7 separate regions of the Homo sapiens genome follow, and regions 1, 2, 4, 5, 6 and 7 are each linked to region 3. The links are contacts of gene promoters, found by promoter capture Hi-C in blood cells and fetal thymus (Javierre and others, 2016). All regions are on one chromosome and are shown on one strand. Each heading gives the region's core, a stretch centred on a gene start or on the middle of the fragment in contact. The rest is flanking DNA. Distances are from core to core; before and after follow the strand shown.

Region 1 (2,857 bases), core at 338-2,837, about 23 Mb before region 3:
TAGTTTGCGGCATCCTGTGGTATAGGGGAAGCGCTCCGGGCCTGGAATCCCTACGCGTCCCTTTGGGTTTAGCACGATGAGCTCAATCGGCACTGGGGTGAGTTCGCTGTCTGTCGGTGTAATAGTTTAACCTAAGGATTGGGGTTGAAGGGAACTCGGACAGACCACATGGGGTTCGCGGACCCGGGGTGCTCTGAGACCGCCTTCGGCTGGGTGGGCCATTTGCAGCTGTTTGGAGACCGGTCGTCTTTATCCCCTATATGCTAGGCCTGCGTCTCAGGTGACCGTGACTCCTGAAGCTTTTCAGCGCAGGTGTAGCCGGCTTGGCGTCGCCGCAGTGAGGTTTGGAGCCGCTTTGGATTGCTGAGTCACTTTCTTCAGCCACTTAGGGAAACCGAAAGTGGAAACTCGTGGGGCTTGAAATAGTGTGTTCTCTTGAGAACCACCGAGGCAGTGAGATTTGGGATTCCGGGGTCTGGAGATCGTGCTTTTTGTGGACTGCGTTTGCAGTTCCTAGGGTGCTGCTGATTCACAGGCCTTCTCTGTCTTTAAGTGTGCAGATCATTGACCGCTCAGTTTAAGAGTCACTGGAAATCCTGTCGGAACAGAACTAATAAAAATGGTCTGAAAAACAATCTGATGAATCCTTCAGTTTTTCCTTTCTCGTTTTTCCTATACAAATTACCTAACAGCGCTTGTAGGCATTTATTCCGTAAACGTTTAAATGGTTACTTAGGAACTTAACAGCTTCAGACTTTTCATAGACTGTTGAGGATTTTGCAGTGGGACTTGTTAACTTGTTTGGCTTTCCTTTGTTAAACGTATTGCATATGTGCAGTCAGTTTACTCCTTTTATGTACTTCTCTATATAGAAAATACAGTTTCTAAAAGATTTATTGGTTATTTGCACTAGAGTTATTGAATAATGAGTTTCTCAGTTCCTCAATTTCTACTTCTTAACAAGATTCTCATGCTCAGCCTTAAGTTCAAGTACCGGTGTTCTAAATTTGATAATAGGCAACTTATGTCTGGAATGGTTTAATCCATTCAGTTATGAATGCTAAAGTTCTGCCATACTTTTCTTGGATAAGTAAATGCTCAATATTAAATCTTGTAGCAAACTGACTTTGCAATTATATTAATATTACCTTGAATTAATAGTATTTCATTCTACAAACCTTTTAAAGAATACTTGATAATGTAACCATGTGGGATATTTTAGTAACAATGGTAGGGTTAATGATCTGGGTTTAACAGATCAGGAAACAGACTCAGAAAGTACCACTGCTGAAGGCTTTTCTTCTGTCTTCATTTCTCCCAAGAACTCCAGATACGAATATTTGTTTGTCTGCTTGACATGTCTGTTCACTTGATCGTTTAATAGTCATTTCGTACTGCATGTGAAAGTAGAGCTCTGGGTTTTCTCCTCACCTTGCCATTTTGCATCTACTACAGTCTTCAGCTCAGTGAATGGTCATATGAAAAAATCTGTTATTCATCTTTAATTCCTTTTTTTACTTTACTCCCAGAACCAACGCTTTAGCAAGTTTATTTTTTTATTTTTATTTTGTTTGAGACGGAGTCTTGCTCTGTTGCCAGGCTGGAGTGCAGTGGCACGATCTTGGCTCACTGCAACCTGTGCCTCCCAGGTTCAAGCAATTCTCCTGTCTCAGCCTCCCGAAGAGCTGGGACTACAGGTGCGCACCACCACGCCCAGCTAATTTTTGTATTTTTCGTAGAGATGAGGTTTCACCATGTTGGCCAGGATGGTCTCCATCTCTTGACCTTGTGATCAGCCCGCCTCACCCTCCCAAAGTGCTGGGATTACAGGCATGAGCCATCACGCCTGGCCTAGCAAGTTTATTTTTATTATTTTTATATTTTACTCTACTCTCAAAAAATATTCCCTTCTACCTCTTCTCTCGTCTAAGCTACTACCGCTATCTTTGGAACACCTTATCTTTGCTTCTGTTGTTCTCTCTACAGCTTATTTTCCGCATAAAGCCAGAATGATGTTTTTAAAAATATAGATGATACCACTCCCCCTGCTTAAATTTCTCATTGCATTTAGAATAAAATACAGAGTCCTTTTTCCATCCTGGAAGACACAACATAATCTGGCCCTCAGCTACCTCACTAACACAGTTTACTCTTCTTTCTGCTGCTTACAGTGCTTGGGACACAGTGACCTTATTTCTGTTTCTTGACTGTGCTAGCCTTATTTCTACCCTAAGATCTTTGTGCCAAATGTCAAGAAGACTTTTCCTTCATATCTTAAATGGCTAGCTCCTTGTCATTTAGGTTTGACTCAGCCTAAATATAACTGCCCAGAAGGCCTTCCCTGATGATGTAGTCTGTAGTAGTTCATTGCTTTACTCTTTTATTTTCATCTTAGTGCCTTTTCTGATTTACTGCTGTACCTCTAGCACCTAGATTCATGTCTGATGTGAAACTGAAGGACTTAATGAATGAGTATACCTTTGTATTCCGTATAGTAACATAATAGATACTCATTAACTGCTTGGTGAATGCCGAATGATTTGTTTGAAGTCTTTTAGTTTGTTAATGGCAGAGTTATCGTTACAAATTTAAATGTTCGAACTCCAGTGCTGGTTCTACTGCCCCATATTAATCTTTTTCAAAAATGAGTTTTGTAGTCTGGGTGAAAAGTGTTCTGACTTCACCTGGGACCTGTATCCATTACTCTTCAATAGCTGAAATCGAAGGTATATAGCTTTATCTTAGCTACTGTTGCTGCTCTGACAAGTTTCCCTTTCCTCTCTTGAAAGCAAGGTCTTTGTTGGGATATAACAGGTTCCTGATGTTTCAGCCATTTAGAGGGGAAGAAACTGTATGG
Region 2 (2,843 bases), core at 255-2,754, about 22 Mb before region 3:
AAATAATAGGAATTAATGTTCTCTATGAAATAAGAAAAAGGCTTAAATCTATTCTGTACACTATATTTTACATTTATTATTTTCAAGTTTAACAGAATGACCACACACATGCATTTAAAATTTGCAGAATTCTATAAATATATTTCTACACATTTAAGGAACTATAAACTATATTAGTATGTATGTATTATTAAATTTAGTAACTGCTAGGTGTGGTGGCTCACACCTGTAATCCCAACACTTTGGGAGGCCGAGCTGGGAGAATCACTTGAGGCCAGGAGTTTGAGGCCATCCTGGGCAACATAGTGACATCCTGTCTCTATATAAACACACACACACACTCACACAAACACAGATTTAGCTGGGTGTGATGGGGCATGCCTGTGGTCCCAGTTACTCTGGAGGCTGAGGCAGAAGCATCATTTTGAGCCTGGGAATTTGAAGTTACAGTAAGCTATGATCACACCACTGCACTACAGCCTGGGTGACAGAGCAAGACCCTGTCTCAAAAAAAATAATATTATCATTTACTGAACATTTACTATTGGCCAGACACTACTCTAAGTCCTTTACATGTATTGACTTATTTCATTCTCACAACCCTACAAAGCAGGTATTTTTTAATTTCCATTTTGCAGACAGGAAAACTGAGGCATATGGAGGTTACGTAACTTGCCCAAGGTTATATACGTTACCAGTGGTAAAGCTAGAACTCATAGATAGTTTTGCTCTAGAGCAGGAATGTCCAATCTTTTGGCTTCTCTGGGCCACACTGGGAGAAGAATTGTCTTGGGCCACACATAAGATACACTAACACTAACGAGAGCTGATGAGCTAAAAAAAAATTGCAAAAAAACTCATAATGTTTTAAGAAAGTTTACAAAATTTGTGTTGGGCCACATTCAAAGCCATCCTGGGCTGCATGTGGCTCACAGGCCACGGGTGGGACAAGCTTGCTCTAGAGCCTAAGATTTTAATAAGTACCCTATTCTTAGTACTATTAATAATTTAAACATCATTTAATTTTCTTTATAGACATAATAATGTATATTTCCTCCATGCCACAGAGAAGGGAATTGGTTATGAAGGCAGAGTATTACTGACCTGAGCTTTCACTGCCTCTGTCACTGCACTCGCTGCATCCACAAGGTCCCTGGTCTTTGCAGAACAAATGTCTAGTCCTAACTTTTCAGCAGTAACAAATGCATAAAATGCACCGCCATATGCAATGTCCACCATCACCTTTCCATGTCCAGGAACATCCACCATGAGATCTAAAAAAAAGATGTGTTTGGAAAGAAGATGTGTTTGTTAATAAGTATTTTAGCAATAAAATTCAAAGGATTTTTAATATGTTTATTTTTCAAGAGGGATGTTCTTTTCCTATCATAAAAATAATGAAGTAAAAATCCGTTTTTTAAATGAATAAGCATCGAGTGAATAATAGCTAGATGCATCATTCTATTTTTAACTTGATGATTGCAGAAGTTATAAACTAAAGCCATGCTTTCCCTAACTCATACAGACATATTCATTAACTTCCCTGAGGATCTTTTCTAGGAAACACCCCTGAGGCCGAGAGAGGGAAACCCAAGGGCATCCCTGTGAACACTAAGAAGGAAAATGTCTATTCCCCACTTGTACTATGAGAGATGGTTTAAAATAGTGAGGGTCTTGGATCCTATTTACAAATCAATTTTCTTCAGCCGTAATGTCAAAACATAAATTTTAATAAAAGATTTTTCTATATAAATTATATACACTTATCTACATGTTTTCATCTCCTTAAGGTATCCTGCAGGCAAACACAGAAAAATGCCATTGTAGAATCATTGACTGCTACAGCATCATTTTGCACCAGGGTTTTTATTTGAGCATTTTAAGTCTCAACATCCCCAAAGTTTCACCTGAAGGTCAGTAGTTTGAAATCTTGAATCTGTATTTCCAAAGAAAGGGGGCTGGGTGATGTTTATTTCGCCCCTTCTCAAATTTTCCTCTTCCCTAATTTAAGCTAGCTTGGTGATCACTGCCTTTTAGGGAAGCCTATGGCAGGGGAGAAAGCTTGTCTTTCATGTTTTTATTTTAGGGAAGCCTAAGCTCTCAGGGGAAAGACATCTGTTGGCAAAGGAGTGTCCTGAAGGGAGAAATATTTCTCCTAGAGATAAATTTTTTCTCCCTTGAGAAGAGTGGAGGCTGAAGGTCCTTAGTGCAGAGAGGACGTGTGTTAACTTCCCCCAGGGCACCACAGGAGCAGGAGTGAAGAAACAGAGGATGGGGAGGCAGTGCAGAGGGCAAGGACCAGGTAGGGTGGGGCAGCCAATGCTCCTGCTCCACTTTGCTGGTTAACTGTGTAAGCTGAGGACTGAAGTGCCATCCTCTCCAAGGCCACAGCACTTTTAAGAAACCTTTGCTCACACATATCAGGAAAGGGGACAACACATGGAGTGATGAGGCTAAGTGAACCAAAAGGACAGAGTAGAGTTTCAGCTTCAGAAATTAAGTTTTGGGAAAGAAAATATATCTTGTGTTCCTGAGTTTTCATACAAGGTCATACAAAGATATCAGTATGCTATCAGTCCACAGAAGGCTATCAGTATGCTATTAGTCCACACTAGTCCACAGAAGCCCTTTTAACCCATGATGTGTTAAAACAGAGCAAGTTTATAATCAAAAGAGTAAAACATGCTGTGGATTGTAACAACAAAACTGAATAAAAAATGTCTTTATCTTGATGCTGGCGCAACATGAAAAGCAAGTTTAATGAAAAGAGAATGGGCAAGTTGATAGAAATGAGGGACTGCTGGAAGGTGGAAAGCTAAAGTGAGGGTGAAGATCAGCACTTA
Region 3 (2,854 bases), core at 351-2,850:
CTCTCACTATTTAAAGCCGGATCTGGTGTTTAAATGGAGAGGCGGTGACGTAGGCCTGAAAAGCACCTTCCCATCCTGGCAGAGTCTATATTAGAGAGCGGCAATGGCTCTATATAAACAGGGCAGCCAAAGGGAGGAGGACCACAAGGCTCAGGGACTGAAAAGCAGGGTAAGCGGCCGCAGCCATGATGGTTAGACCCGAGTCGCCAACGGTACGGTGTCGGGCGGCCGCGGGCTGGTCTGCGGCATTTGGGACCGGGCAAAAAACGTGTTTTATTGTCATCATAAAAATAAGAGTTGGGTGGACTAGTGATCACACTGCGTTGGTGACTGAAAAGGTTATTTATGTGACTGCTTTTTGCAAACCTACGTGATCGCAAGTAACAAAAAGGGACCAACGGGAAGAAGTAGGTAAATTTCAAGGCGAAAGCGGGGACACTTGGACCACTGCAGGCTTTTTTTGTTTGTTTTGGTGCTTCTGCTAGGCGAAGATACGATGGGGGTCTTCCCCTTCGCCATTTTACCCATTCGGAAGGAACTGAGATAAGTGCTTTTCAACCAACCTTCGTCCTTTTTTTAAACATAAAATGGCCTCAGAGAAGGTTCCCAAAGCACAGCCGCCAAAAACAACCTAAGAAACCCCCAAAGTAACCATTAATCTTCCACTGCATTAAAGTGGATCACGATGGGTCTCGGGGGTTCGCCCGATTCCCCACACACAGTTTTTGTTCTGTAGCCACTCGGGGAGCCCTCGTCAAGCCAGCGCGGACGGGCCCCTCGGGGGGAAGCGGCGGCTCCCCTCCCGCCCTCCCTCCCGGCGGCCGGGTTCTGGGGCCGGGGCTGCGCGCCCGACCGGGCCCAACCGCCTCCGCGGCCCGGCCCGGCCCGCGGCGGCCCCAGGCCCCACCGGCGCCCCCGCCCTCCCCGCGCCGCGAGCCCTCGGCGCCCCCCCGCGCCCGCCGCCCGGCGCTCCGGCCCGATCCGCCCGAGGCGGGAAGCGGCGGCGGCGGCGGCCGCGCGGGCGGCTGAAGAGTCGAGGCCGGGAGTCGCCGCCGTCCCCGCCCCCGCCCGGTCCGGCCGTTGCTGCAGCCTGAACGAAGCCCCCGCCGGCCACCGAACCACGTCCTTACCACGGTGTTTGTATTTGCCGAGTTCGCCATTTCCACACACAACACAAACAAGAGGGGGCAACCCCAAGAAAACAAGATAAAAACAAAACCAAAAAAAAAAAAACTATAACACCCGGAGGGTGACCCAAATCACCGCAAGATTGGGGAAAAAATTTTAAACAAAATCAATCCTGAAGGAGTAGGGGAGAGCGGAGAGAGGAGGAGGAGGGGGGCACTCCTCCCGCAGCTGAAAACCTCGAGAATCGCCTTAAAAAAAAAAAAAAAGCCACGACCCTTCAGGGGTCCGGGGGGCGTTGCCCGCTCCCCACCCCGCGCCAAGGAGGGAAACCACCACCGGTCACCGCTCCCTGCGCCGCCGCTGCCGCCACCGGCTGCAGCTCCAGCCGTCCGGTCCGCCCGCTTCTCTCCTTTATATAGCGAGCCAACAAGCTGCGCGAGCCACCACCGCCGCCGCCGCCGCCGCCGAGAGACAGGGTGAAGGGGGAGGGAGGGGCGGAAAGGGCGGGGGCAGAGGTGGGCGGGGCTGAGCGCGAGACACCGCGAGAGCCGCGTGCGCAGGCGCGCCGGGGCGGAGGCCGCCGGCGAGCCGCGTTGTCACGCGCCGTGGCGGGTACTGGACTGGCGGAGCCCGGGGAGTGAAGTAGTGAAATCGGACCTACGCCTCTCCAACGCTCGCGTGATCACGTGGTTGGCACCCAGGCGGAAGTCTGCGGCAGTTCTTTGCGGTGAAGAACTTGCAAAGCGTTGCTGGAAAAGACGGGAGTTCTACTGACACTCCAGTCCAAAGCTAGGTGGGACCGCCTCCTGTCGCACGTTTCCGCCTGGTCCCGCGCTTTAGGAGCTAGGAAATGTGACAGAGGCGGTGCCTACTGCCTCGCTAGGAATGGCCGCGGAGGAGGACTGGTCACGTGGCGTGGCTTCCGGCCTCTGGCGCGTTCCTATTCGGGAAGGTTTTAAATGCGGAGTCATCTCTTGATTTGTCAGCGAGGCTTTGACTGTGAGCTTCGCGGCGTTCGCGCCTCACCGCCTCACCGAGGGTGGGTCTTTCGCGCGCAGAATTGTGTAGGATTTTCCAAAGGGAGTAAAAGCCGATCGGGGCCTACTTTTAACATTCCACAATTAGTAACGTCTGATTCGTTTGTTTCCACAGTGGGTACGCTGCGAAGACTAGGCTTATGTTACCCAGAGGTTAGTCCTCTACTAGGCCACGTACTTTAAATAATTTATCACGCTAGTGGAAATGCGGGGTGGAAGAAAACCCCACCAGCCTTTGGATTGTAACAGCACAGTAACTTTCCCTGGTTTTTAAAAATATTGCCAAAATACTGCGACTCCATGTGGCCAACGTATAGTGACTGATCACTTTGAAATGCATGCCCTTGACCCACCAACTCGCATGGCCTCTCGCTATAAGAGAGCAAGCCGGCTGTGTTCCATGTTCAATTCAATAAGTGCAATTCAATAAGCTTTTGACTTGTTCTGCCCAAGCAAATCCTGCCTTTATATCGACCTTGCAAGCAGAACAGAGAATGCTGTTTGGAAGGCAGAATTCATAGTACCTAGTTTTCTTGTCCCTGGGAATTTTGAGGGACTTGAAATGTCGCGTGGATGAGTGAGGGAGTTTGTCTTCCAGAGACAAAGCAAAACGAAACGTCAAAGTTCTGTGCTGGTGAAACCAGATTTGAAGAATATCAAAGGCGTCTTACCAAAGAGGAAAAAAAATG
Region 4 (2,700 bases), core at 73-2,572, about 24 Mb before region 3:
AAGCACACACACAAAAAAGGGGTCTTTCTTTCCTTTTTCTTATCCGTTTTCATTTCTTTCACACAAGGAGATGCTTTATACGTGTCATTGTTTTGTAGCCTAATTAGAGTTTTCCTATTCTATTATCTCAAACTTTTATCACAGCTTCTTACAACGGACTTCACGAAATTAAATTTTAAGGTTTAGATACTGTAAACGCTCGAGGAAAGACATTAGTATTCTCACTATTACATATTAAGGATTCTCTAGCTTGCAGTTAGGTGATTTTATAATACATGTAAATGCATATAATACACTTAAGGTGCATTATATACATGAAACGAAGTGTTCGTTTTATTTTATAAACTTTTTTTATTTTATAATACACGTAAATGCCTCGAGTGTATTATTATGTATTACATGAAATAAAGTGTTCACTTGAATTTTGCCTCCCTTCAGTCTATCTCTCTTCAGTCGAAAGAGATAAGTAGGCCTTTATTGTCCAAAAAAAAAAAAATTGTCCCAGCCTTTTCAAATGTCAGGTTAAACTGGCAGTCCTATGAATGCCACCTGCAACCTTACTAATGGAATAATTACTCAAAACGAGAAGCCCCCAAGAGTCCCGATCTCAAGTGGCTTCCTCCTATTATTCCCGCGAGGACCCCAGCGACAAGACTCGCCCAACCTGAGGCTCCTGGCTCTCTTTCCTCGTCCTGAGTCAGCCCTTCCCACTACTCATCCGGAGTAGACATCTTCCAACACCCGAACCTTCCAGACTTTCCCTCTTGCCCCCACAAACAAAAGCAACCCTCCTCCCTTGGGACACCCGGCTTCCCCTCTCTGCCGACCGGCCGCCCAGCCCACCTCGGCCCCAAGCACCCCTCCCCCATTTCACGCTCCGCCCGCGCTGACACGGAGCTGCCACCCCAACCCTTCTGTTTCGCACCTCTCTCCCGAGGGCTCCTCCTGGGCAGCCAGCAAACGCCCGCTCCTCGGCCCGCCCACCCAGCTGCCTGCAAACCCCGGGCCTGCCACTCCCTGTAGAGCCGCCGGGGCCCACCTCGAAGAGCTCGGCCGTGGTAGCCATCCCGGCCGGCTGAGAGGCTCGCCCCCCACTGGATGCCGTCTCCGCTTCACATGCTGCGCCTCAGAGGCGCGGCGCACAGGTCTCCGCTCGGCTCGCCAGCTCCGGCTCCGGGCCGCTGCGGGCTCCCCAGCTCCCCACAGATCCCAGGAGGGGCGGGAGAGCGGCCATGAAGCGAAGCCGCAAACGCTTGTCAGCTGCCTCCCGGCGCCGCCCGCGCTGCTCCCATTGTCACCGCCTCATACGCCGGAAGTGGAACTGCGCGCGCCAGGGAGGTTGTCGGGAGGGGCCGGCGAATAAAACGAGCGGCGAAAGAACCGAAAAAAGGCTCGACGCTACCGTGTATGAGGAACTTTGATCCTTGCGGGCCACCATTCCGGAAGTAGAATTTAGAGGAAGAAAATACCGGAGTTGCAGGGTATAGGTAAATTTCTCAAGGTTATAGGTTGGGGTTCTTAGAACTTTTTGTGGTGTGTGTTGGCCTAGAGCGACTCAGAAGCGTTAGTGACTTCACCTAAAAAAGCTAACCTCTCTGCTGAGCGCGACCGGTATGCGGCGCAGGATGAGCCTCAGGGCTTCTGTTAAGAGTCTGTCTGAGAAAGCCGGTCTGCGCTGTTCCTCGGTGGCGACCTTAATTATGAGATGAGCTAATGCTTTACTGACTTAACCATGGCGCAGCGGGCAGTGTGGCTCATAAGCCACGAACCGGGAACTCCACTTTGTGGCACCGTGAGATTCTCCAGGTAAATGCAAATCTGAATCCTCAGGGATGATGGATCAGAAGATCGATGAAGTAGCATAGTTTTGTGGTGCTTCGTGGCCCAGGTTTGCCACGAATAGCTGCGTGACCTTGGGCTAGCCAGTTAACAGACCTCTGTTTCGTCTGTTAAATGGAGATTTTAATAGTCCTACCTTACAGTGTTGTGAGAATTGAGTTGATGACTGGTACATATTATTTACGGTATATGTTTTCTATTAGTATTGTGTTTTAAAATGACCTCCGTCTGCTTAGAATTAAAATGGAGATGACTAAGGGAACGGTAGAAAATTTACTGAGCACTAAACATTTTCAGATTTTTCAACATGCATTGACAAAATCGTTCCAGAACATTTTAACTTATTCTACTGAAAAATCCATGCTAAGTTATATCAGACTTTTATTTTTTTGTTTTTATTTTTTTGAGACGGAGTCTCGCTCTGTTCCCCAGGCTAGAGTGCAGTGGTGCGATCTCCGCTCACTGCAAGCTCCGCCTCCCGGGTTCATGCCGTTCTCCTGCCTCAGCCTCCCGAGTAGCTGGGACTACAGGCACCCGCCACCACGCCCGGCTAATTTTTTGTATTTTTGGTAGAGAGGGGGTTTCACCGTGTTAGCCAGGATAGTCTTGATCTCCTGACCTCGTGATCCGCCCGCCTTGGCTCTCAAAGTGCTGGGATTACAGGCAGGAGCCACCGCGCCCCGCCCAGGCTTTTATTTTTATCTTGTTAATATGTGTCAATGGTAGAAATCATCAGTTTACAGTTCCTAATTGTTGAAGAAAATAGAAACACAAAAAAATGTATTCACTATTTCATATATTGTGTTAAGTTGATCTGGTCCCACTATTAGAATTTGCCCTGTGTAATCAAAATAGCTCTGT
Region 5 (2,860 bases), core at 131-2,630, about 23 Mb before region 3:
CATCTTTACCAACCAGTGGCTTTTCTTGACTTGCCAAATCAGTGAATGGTACTGCTCGTTCCCTCTTTCTTAAATCTTGAGTATGTTTCATTTTCTTTCTTCTTCACCTCTATAATCAGAGATCAAATGCTGTCAAGTTTTCCTCCCCCCACCAAAACAATTCCTTGCTCACCTATTCCTTTCTCTCTCCAGTTCCTACTCTAGTTTCATCTCATGCTGATACCACTTCAACAGTATCTTGTCTCCCTACTTCCAATTCCTGTGTCATTTCTTCAGTTACAATGGGCATTGTTTCTAAATAATTTTCCAACACTGTATTTTGTTTATGACATGCCTTTCTGTGCCTATTCAAAAACTCTCAGCAAAAGTAACTAAAATTAAAAGGGAAATCTGTATGGAAAAATATGTGCAGCAAGTTACCACTATAATAAACTCAATCAATTAAGAAATAAAACATCAAGATTCTAATACATAATTAGAAATGTGAATAGACAACCTGTAAAAGAATCAGTAAGTGAAATCACAGAACAAGGTCCCATTTCACTAATTCACAACAAAAACACTATAAAGAAAAAAAGAGCTCAATGTATTTTGCACCTATTAAATTAGTAAAAATGAAAATTATAGACTATTTAATGCCACTAGCTAAACTCACAGGGAGGGTGATAGTGTAAATTATAACCAGCTTGAAAAACAACACAGCAATGTTTCAGGAGTCATAAAAATGTTCATACAACGACTCTTTAAATGTACTCCTAAAAGAACAGTCCAAAAGAGAAAATACTGTATGCATGCAGAAGATACCTGAAGCACAATACTGAAGCACTATGAAACTTACAGTCATGCAATAGAAAAATGAAAAGGATAAAAAAGCTTGATGGAATATTTTCAGACATTAAAATCATTATAGAGACTGTCCATTACACTGAATGCTTGTTATAATGTTAAAGGAGCAAAGAAAACCAAAAACTACCCTAAGACTAAAGAAAATACATACAAACAAGGAGGAAGGAAATTTTAAAAATCTCTTAGAGTGGCATTAAAAGTGATTTCTTTTTTCTTTTGAGACAGTCTCACTCTGTTGCCCAGGCTGGAGTGCAGTGGTCCAATCCTGGCTCACTGCAACCTCCACCTCCCAGGTTCTCCTGCCTCAGCCTCCCGAGTAGCTAGGATTACAGTCACGTGCCACCACGCCAGGCTAAATTTCGTAGTTTTAGTAGAAATGAGGTTTCACAATGTTGGCCAGGCTGGTCTCAAACTCCTGGCCTCAAGCCATCTGCCCACCTTGGCCTTCCAAAGTGCTGGGATTACAGGTGTGAGCCACCATGCATGGCTGCATTTTATTTTGTTTAGTTCCATTATAATTTGTAAAACTTGAAATAAGACAAGACAAAAATAATGGTCAATTTCTGCTTACTCCCAATCTTCCAAGACCCTCTAGAACCCTGTAACACCCCATTGGACTCTGATGTGCAGCTAACCCTAGAAACAGGGGTAGGTTGGCCACACAATTTTCCCTAATCTTCAGCCAATCATCCTTTCTGACCTGGTTTACCCTCTGTCCCAAATACATATTTCCTTGTATTCTTGCTCACAACCTTTCATCCAATTAGAATGTCTTCTCTCCTTCTAATTTTACACATTATATCTCACTATCCTTGAAAAGCCTTTAATAACCATTATAAATTTCTTTCTGCTCTGCTTTCTAAAGCAATTTGTCTCTTTTAAAAGAACCACTAGATCTGATTGTATACAGAACTTTGACAAATCTATTATCAGGAGCCATGTAAGTCTATAAATAAGGTTATATAGATTGCTTAAATATTTTGAAATAACTACTTAGATTAACTTTCCACATGTGTAATTACATTCTCCCTTTTATTGACCTTAAGCTTCTGGAGCACAGATCCTTGTAGGAAAGCCATTATGTAACTCATATTTGCTTGAATCTGAATCCTAAAATACGCTGTCATTCCAGTTTGAATTATACGAACCATTATCTATGACTCCATGTGGCCATAAAATCAGCAGATAAATCTGACACGGTGCCGGGCGCAGTGGCTCATCCCTGTAATCCCAGCACTTTGGGAGACGAGGCGGGTGAATCACGAGGTCAGGAGTTCGAGAGCAGCCGGGCCAATATGGTGAAACCCATCTCTACTAAAAGCACAAAAATTAGCCGGGCGTGGTGGCATGCACCTGTAGTCCCAAGCTACCCAGGAGGCTGAGGCAGGAGAATCGCTTGAACCTGGGAGGCAGAGGTTGCGGTGAGCCAAGATCATGCCACTGCACTCCTGCCTGGAGGACAGAGCGAGACTCCGTCTCAAAAAATAAATAAATAAATAAAAATTGAATAGGGCAAAAGACAACATAGAAATTTCAAAGTCTGCTTTGGTTACAAATAAGTAAATTATGTAACTTTCCATAAAATAACTAAATCTTTAGGAAAGCTGCTACATTCAACACAGCAATCATTTCCACTTCTCAATATATACTCGTGTACAGAAACAACTGCACAGTTGAACAAATTCTATGTTTTTTTTTTTTTTGAGACGAGTCTCACTCTTGCTGCCCAGGCTAGAGTGCAGTGGCACGATCTAAGCTCACTGTAACCTCCGCCTCCCGGGTTCAAGTGATTCTCCTGCCTCAGCCTCCCAGGTAGCTGGGGTTACAGGTATGTGTTACCACGCCCGGCTAATTTTGTATTTTTAGTACAGACAGGGTTTCACCTTGTTGGTCAGGCTGGTCTCGAACTCCTGACATTAGGTGATCCACCCACCTCTGCCTCCCAAAATGCTGGGATTTCAGGCGTTTTAGCCACCATGCCCGGTTATCATTTTTCAAAAGATACACAGATACA
Region 6 (2,700 bases), core at 188-2,687, about 36 Mb before region 3:
TTTATAGTTTTAGGTTTTACATTTAGGTCTTTACTTCATTTTAAGTTAATTTTTACATGTAGTATAAGACCAGGGTCCAACTTCATTCTTTTGCACGTGGATATCCAGTTTTCCAAGCACCATTTGAAGAGACGATCCCTTCCTCAATGAGCAGTCTTAGCACTTTGTTGAGGGCCATTTGAGAAGGGAGTTTATTTCTGTGTTCTTTATTTCATTGGCCTATTTGACTGTTTTTATGTCAGTATCACACTTGATTTCTTTCTTTTTTTTGAGGCAGGGTCTGGCTCTGTCACCCAGGCTGGAGTGCAGTGGCACGATCACGACTCACTGCAGCCTTGACTCCCACTTCAGCCTCCGGCTAATTTTTGTATTTTTTTGTAGAGAATGGTTTTTGCTATGTTGCCTGGGCTGGTCTGGAACTCATGGGTGATCGGCCTACTTGGCCTCCCAAAGTGCTGAGATTACAGACAGGAGCCACTATGCCTGGCCCGTTTTATTTCTTTCTTTTGATAGCTATTCTGTACCCTTTCCCATTTTATGTTGCTAGTTGAAAATTATTGGTTGTTGTTAAGAATAAACTGATAATAATTGACATATAAATAATATGTTGGAGTAACTCATTAAAAAATAACTTTAGTGTATTCTTTTGACTCTGTGATTTGTGAAGTAATCATCAAAATGATCTCTATAAGCATAAGGTTGATGTTCTTAAATCTTTTTACAACACTGTGATTGCAGGGTGTGGAGTAATTGACAGGCTCTGAAGATGCAGGGGTGTGGTAAATTTGCTGATTCCAGAAGAAACCCTTATGTCTCACCTAAGTGTGAAATTAGAATAGGGTAGCTAGTTAATGACTCAGAATGTATCAGCCTACAGTCTTTTTTGTATTTTGTTTTTAGACTGAGCTCTGAAATACAAAACCACAAACTAGTGACTAATTTGCATTTGGAAAATTAATCTTCAAACGTATCTTTTTCTTTAAAGGAAGAGGGAAAAAGAACAAAATAAATTTACAAGTTACTTTGCCTTTTCCTAGGGCCTGAAGTGATTAAACTTGGAAAAGTTGATGACATTAATCATACATTGAACTAGAAGGGAACTTATTTTTTCTGGTAGTCTACTACTTTGGACTCTCTTTTATTATGCATTGGCTAGATTTGCTTTTTCTGTAATTTTTTCTCAAATTCTTTTGTCCATAATATGGCTCCATGCTACTTTGCTTTTACCCTTCTACTTCTCAATACCAACCTCTTCATTCTGGTCATTCTGTGTCTCTCTTATCTTTTCAGTCATCATTTCTACCTTCTTGTCTGCTGTCAAGGAGAGTTGTTTAATGGGTTGTTCCACATTCTAGAATAGTTTACCATTCTTTTTCTATTATTCCATAATTTTTCAAAGTTAATTATATTTCATGTTTTCATCTATAGATTGCTATTGTTTTCAAATGATTTTTTCAATAATCTTTCACTTTGTTTCATTTGAGAGCTTATCTCCAAATGTGTGTGTGTATGTGTTTGTGTGTGTGTGTATGTGTTGTGTGTTAGCTCTTTCTCTACCTGGTTAATAGACATTAGTGAGTAAGGACCTTATCTTACACTTATATGTCACTACGAGGAATGTAATACAGTGCTGGACATCCATCAGGCATTGAAAATTTTTTGTCCCCTTCCCCCATCCCCACATGTCCCATTTTTTCCTTTCAAATTTTTGTGTATTCCCTAGATTTACCTGGTTATAGCTAATTCTTTCAATGGCATTCAGACTCAGAAGGTCTTTTAACATTTAAAATTTATTCTTTCTTAGGAAAAAAATAGTTTCATACTATTTGTTCTTTCTTTTTCTTTTTCCTTGTTTTTAATAGAATCTTGCTCTGTCTCCCAGGCTTAGGAAAAAAATGGTTTCATACTATTTGTTCTTTCTTTTTCTTTTTTCCTTGTTTTTAATAGAATCTTGCTCTGTCTCCCAGGCTGGAGTGCAGTAGTGTGATCGTAGTTCACTGCAGCCTTGAACTACTGGATGATCAAGTGATTCTCCCACCCCAGCCTCCTCAGTAGCTAGGACTATAGGCACACACCACTGTGCCCAGCTAATTTTTAGATTTTTTTGTAGTGATGGAATCTCACTTTGTTCCCCAGGCTGGTCTGGAACATCTGGCTTCAAGCGATCCACCCACCTTGGCTTCCCGAAGTGTTGGGATATAGGTGTGAGCCACCTTTCCTGGCCATGCTACATTTTGAAATGATGGAAATGTTTTAGAATCTGGGTTTTGTATCCGTGTGACAATTTTAAAGGGTCACACATAGACACATGACCCCGAATGCAAAACTAATATGACAAACTTATAATAATATTTTACAATTTTGCAGAGATCTGGCTTTCTTAGTTTACGAAGAGTGTATACAAACCAATAAGAAAAAAATTAGTAATGAACAGAAAATATGGGCAAAAGATGTGAAAAGGCATTTATGAAAAAAAGAAATAAAAATTTTACTTACTCATAGTTAAGGAAATGAAAATCAAAATGAGGTGCTACTTTGTTAAAAAAAAATTAGATGAGCAAATGATAGCTATTGTTGCCGGGGATATAAAGCAATGGACAGTCTCATGCACTGTTGATGACTTAATTGGTTAGGAATTCATTTTGTCTCAAAGTAATAGAAAACTTGTATATTGATAGTAGTTTAAACAAATAGGAATTT
Region 7 (2,951 bases), core at 317-2,816, about 27 Mb before region 3:
AGCTACTCGGGAGGCTGAGGCAGGAGAATCGCTTGAACCCGGGAGGCTGAGGTTGCAGTGAGCCGAGATTGCACCACTGCACTCTAGCCTGGCGACAGAGCGAGACTCCATCTCAAAAACAAAAACAAAAAAACAAAAACAAACAGACCCCAACTCTCAGCATATACAAAAATCAAATCAAAATGGATTAAAGACTTAAATGTAAGATCTGAAACTATACAACCACTAGAAGAAAACACTGGGCAATTGCTTCAGGACATTGGTCTGGGCAAAGATTTTTTTGAGTAAGACCTCAAAAGCACAGACAACTAAAGCAAAATAGACAAATGAGATCATATCAAGCTAAAAAGCTTCTGAGAGGAAAGAAAACAACGAGTGAAGAGACAACCTACAGAATGGGAGAAAATATCTGCAAATTCTCCACTCAACAAAGGATTAATAATCAGAATATACAAGGATCTCAAACAACTCAATAGCAAAAAATTCCCATTTAGTCCTAATAATAGTTAACATGTATCAGACCCTATGAGAGAAACACTGTTATATCCTTTACATAGATTTCCTTTTATGTTCAAAACAATCTCACGAAACAGATACTATTATTACTCCCATTTTGCAAGAAACTAAGGTTTAGAGAGGTTAAGTATCTTTCCCCAATTACATAGCTAGTGGAGCCAGGATTCAACCCAGGCAGCCTATCTTAACTCACTCTCTTAACCACTACAAAGGAGGTGGTGACAGATTGGATATTGGGGGTGGGGGTGGGGTGTGAGTAAGCAAAAAAAAGGGTTACCAGATATACTAGGCTTCTGGCTGGTATAACAGATTGTCTTGTATAACAGACAGAAGACTAGGTTTGAGGAGAAAGGGCATGAGTTCTACTTTGGACAAACTGAGGTGGCTTTGAGGAGACCAAGTGGAGGAAAAGCTTCCCAGGGGAATGGTAACTAAATATTGAAATATTAATATATAGATCTGGGGTCAGGCGCGGTAGCTCACGTCTGTAATCTCAACACTTTGGGAGGCCGGGGCAGGTGGATCACTTGAGGTCAGGAGATCGAGACCATCCTGGCTAACATGGTGAAACCCCGTCTCTACTAAAAATACAAAATTAGGGCCGGGCGCGGTGGCTCACGCCTGTAATCCCAGCACTTTGGGAGGCCGAGGCAGGTGGATCACGAGGTCAGGAGATCGAGACCATCCTGGCTAACACGGTGAAACCCCGTCTGTACTAAAAATACAAAAACAAAATTAGCCGGGTGTGGTGGCGGGAGCCTGTAGTCCCAGCTACTCGGGAGGCTGAGGCGGGAGAACGAACGGCGTGAACCAGGGAGGCGGAGCTTGCAGTGAGCGGAGATCGCGCCACTGCACTCCAACCAACGCGACAGAGCGAGACTCCATCTCAAAACAAACAAACAAAAAAACAAAATTAGCCGGGCGTGGTGGCACATGCCTGTAATCCCAGCTACTTGGGAGGCTGAGGCAGGAGAACTGCTTGAACCTGGGAGGCGGAGGTTGCAATGGGCCGAGATCCCGCCATTGCACTCCAGCCTGGGCCACAAGAGTGAAACTCCGACTCAAAGAAAAAAAAGTACATACAGATCTGGATTGGATCTCAGAAGCAAGGTCTTCTGAGCTGTAAATTCACAAGTCATCTGAATATAGATGGTAACTGAAGCCATAGTTTAGGATGAAGAATACAGAATGGAAAATGAAGGATTAGGATGAAACCTGGGACTCCTTCGAGCATTGTCCAGGGAAAGGAGAATAGTCTGAAAGGGAAACAGATGGACCAATAGGAGAAGTAGGAGGAGCTCTGTATCCCAGAAGCCAAAGGGGAAGAATGAAGGAAGAGAATGCTTCAAAAACAAGAGAGTATAACACTCTGGAATGCAGCTAAAAGGTCAGAGAAGACGAAAACTGAAAAGAATCCATTCGATTCAGTGACCATGACAAGATCTATTCGATGAAAGTGGGCTGAGAATTGAGTGGATGGTCACAGAGAGCAGTGTTTTGTTGTTTCTAATGAAATTTACCCATATTTTAAAACCTAATGGGATGGATCCAAAAGATCCTTGATGGCGATTTATTTAATTTTCCACTTTATTTTTATGCTTGGGGTCCATCCCATGTAAGAACAGAAGCCACAGCCCCCAGAACCAACAAAACTAAAGTTATTGACAATTACTTTAAGGCCCAGTGCCAAAGCTTTGGGTCGAAAGGTTTCCAACTGCCATAGGAAAGCAAAGATAAGGAGAAATCCTCTGTAGGAAGCTAGGGAAAGGAGCAGAGAGAAAGAAGCTAAGGTGAGGCCGAGAGAATTCAATCGGAATTCGAGTCCTCCCCCAAAACGCCGCCAGGTGGAAGATGCTCGGGGCCCACCAACCCCTGGAACCTGGCCACGGCCCTGGCAGGGAAAGCAGGAATTGAGGGAGCCCTCCGATGGGGCAGACCCCTTTCCCTCCAACCTACAGCTCAGAAGCTGAAGCCCTCCAACCAGAAGGACCTGGCGTGGGGCCTCCCCAACCCCCCTGCTCGTGGCCGCACCCTAGTCCCATGGCCCGCTGGGCGGGTCCACCCCGGGCCCAGCTGGAAGATGCTGCCCTGAGGCGTGGTGGCGGCGGCAGAGGCCAAGTACTCTAGCTATGGGCACTGGCCAGCTGCTGGGAGCGGAAGCGGCCGCCGAGCCCTCCTGGGCGCTGCCCGCCGCCGCCGGCTCCGGAAACCGGGAAAACCCGGCTGGCCGGCTCGCCCAGCCCTCCGGCCCCCGCCCTCCCAGCGGCAACTCACCATTTTCCTTCCGGCCGTCAGCGGCCTGTCGCCTACACTCGGGCGCCTTTAAGAATGGCACGGCGGCCGCCTCCCTTCCTGCCCCGGCGCCTGGCCCAGTCGCCCCCACCTATCAACGCGGCCTCAGCGGGCCGGCACGTGATGGCGGACGGCAAAAGGCG

The links. The method cuts DNA at HindIII sites, captures the fragments that hold promoters and counts their contacts. A CHiCAGO score of 5 or more calls a contact.
Region 1: a contact is called between a fragment that was not itself captured here and the fragment with the promoter of GTF2A1 in region 3, in 3 of 17 cell types (total CD8 T cells, fetal thymus and non-activated CD4 T cells). The highest score is 10.1, in total CD8 T cells.
Region 2: a fragment that was not itself captured here is called in contact with the fragment with the promoter of GTF2A1 in region 3 in 1 of 17 cell types (total CD8 T cells); the score reaches 6.3 in total CD8 T cells.
Region 4: the fragment with the promoter of EXOC5 here is called in contact with the fragment with the promoter of GTF2A1 in region 3 in 9 of 17 cell types (naive CD4 T cells, naive CD8 T cells, total CD8 T cells and 6 more); the score reaches 30.6 in naive CD4 T cells.
Region 5: a fragment that was not itself captured here is called in contact with the fragment with the promoter of GTF2A1 in region 3 in 1 of 17 cell types (total CD8 T cells); the score reaches 6.3 in total CD8 T cells.
Region 6: a fragment that was not itself captured here is called in contact with the fragment with the promoter of GTF2A1 in region 3 in 2 of 17 cell types (non-activated CD4 T cells and naive CD4 T cells); the score reaches 11.0 in non-activated CD4 T cells.
Region 7: a fragment that was not itself captured here is called in contact with the fragment with the promoter of GTF2A1 in region 3 in 3 of 17 cell types (non-activated CD4 T cells, total B cells and total CD8 T cells); the score reaches 10.7 in non-activated CD4 T cells.

What each region holds. Positions count from the first base shown.
Region 1 is chr14:58,244,845-58,247,701 of GRCh38, forward strand. PSMA3 (proteasome 20S subunit alpha 3) reads left to right here. Exons shown (of 11, transcript NM_002788.4): 1 at 1-97. The coding sequence starts at 77. Among named protein-coding and RNA genes, the nearest start is that of PSMA3, 1.4 kb to the left of the region's middle. RefSeq lists enhancers at 11-908, 23-472. The HindIII fragment of the contact is 2,580 bases long and covers 298-2,857 here.
Region 2 is chr14:59,478,078-59,480,920 of GRCh38, forward strand. It overlaps L3HYPDH (trans-L-3-hydroxyproline dehydratase), which reads right to left. Exons shown (of 5, transcript NM_144581.2): 2 at 1,105-1,274. Among named protein-coding and RNA genes, the nearest start is that of L3HYPDH, 4.9 kb to the right of the region's middle. RefSeq lists an enhancer at 2,791-2,843. The HindIII fragment of the contact is 1,109 bases long and covers 951-2,059 here.
Region 3 is chr14:81,219,359-81,222,212 of GRCh38, forward strand. GTF2A1 (general transcription factor IIA subunit 1) reads right to left here and starts at 1,601. Exons shown (of 9, transcript NM_015859.4): 1 at 1,131-1,601. The coding sequence starts at 1,160. GTF2A1-AS1 (GTF2A1 antisense RNA 1) reads left to right here and starts at 1,860. Exons shown (of 2, transcript NR_135252.1): 1 at 1,860-2,167; 2 at 2,281-2,854. RefSeq lists enhancers at 1-323, 196-265, 306-395 and silencers at 736-855, 1,386-1,435, 1,466-1,765. The HindIII fragment of the contact is 3,079 bases long and covers 1-2,594 here.
Region 4 is chr14:57,267,583-57,270,282 of GRCh38, forward strand. EXOC5 (exocyst complex component 5) reads right to left here and starts at 1,323. Exons shown (of 18, transcript NM_006544.4): 1 at 1,040-1,323. The coding sequence starts at 1,066. AP5M1 (adaptor related protein complex 5 subunit mu 1) reads left to right here and starts at 1,389. Exons shown (of 8, transcript NM_018229.4): 1 at 1,389-1,806. The coding sequence starts at 1,733. RefSeq lists a silencer at 754-813 and enhancers at 1,123-1,706, 1,354-1,553. The HindIII fragment of the contact is 4,317 bases long and covers 1-2,700 here.
Region 5 is chr14:58,288,705-58,291,564 of GRCh38, forward strand. All of the region lies in intron 2 of PSMA3-AS1 (PSMA3 antisense RNA 1), which reads right to left. LINC00216 (long intergenic non-protein coding RNA 216) reads left to right here. Exons shown (of 1, transcript NR_146595.1): 1 at 1-449. Among named protein-coding and RNA genes, the nearest start is that of LINC00216, 2.1 kb to the left of the region's middle. The HindIII fragment of the contact is 1,019 bases long and covers 872-1,890 here.
Region 6 is chr14:45,089,217-45,091,916 of GRCh38, forward strand. The region is part of intron 1 of PRPF39 (pre-mRNA processing factor 39); the gene reads left to right. Among named protein-coding and RNA genes, the nearest start is that of PRPF39, 6.5 kb to the left of the region's middle. The HindIII fragment of the contact is 2,933 bases long and covers 1-2,700 here.
Region 7 is chr14:54,486,135-54,489,085 of GRCh38, forward strand. GMFB (glia maturation factor beta) reads right to left here and starts at 2,846. Exons shown (of 7, transcript NM_004124.3): 1 at 2,791-2,846. The coding sequence starts at 2,793. RefSeq lists a silencer at 2,529-2,928. The HindIII fragment of the contact is 1,280 bases long and covers 927-2,206 here.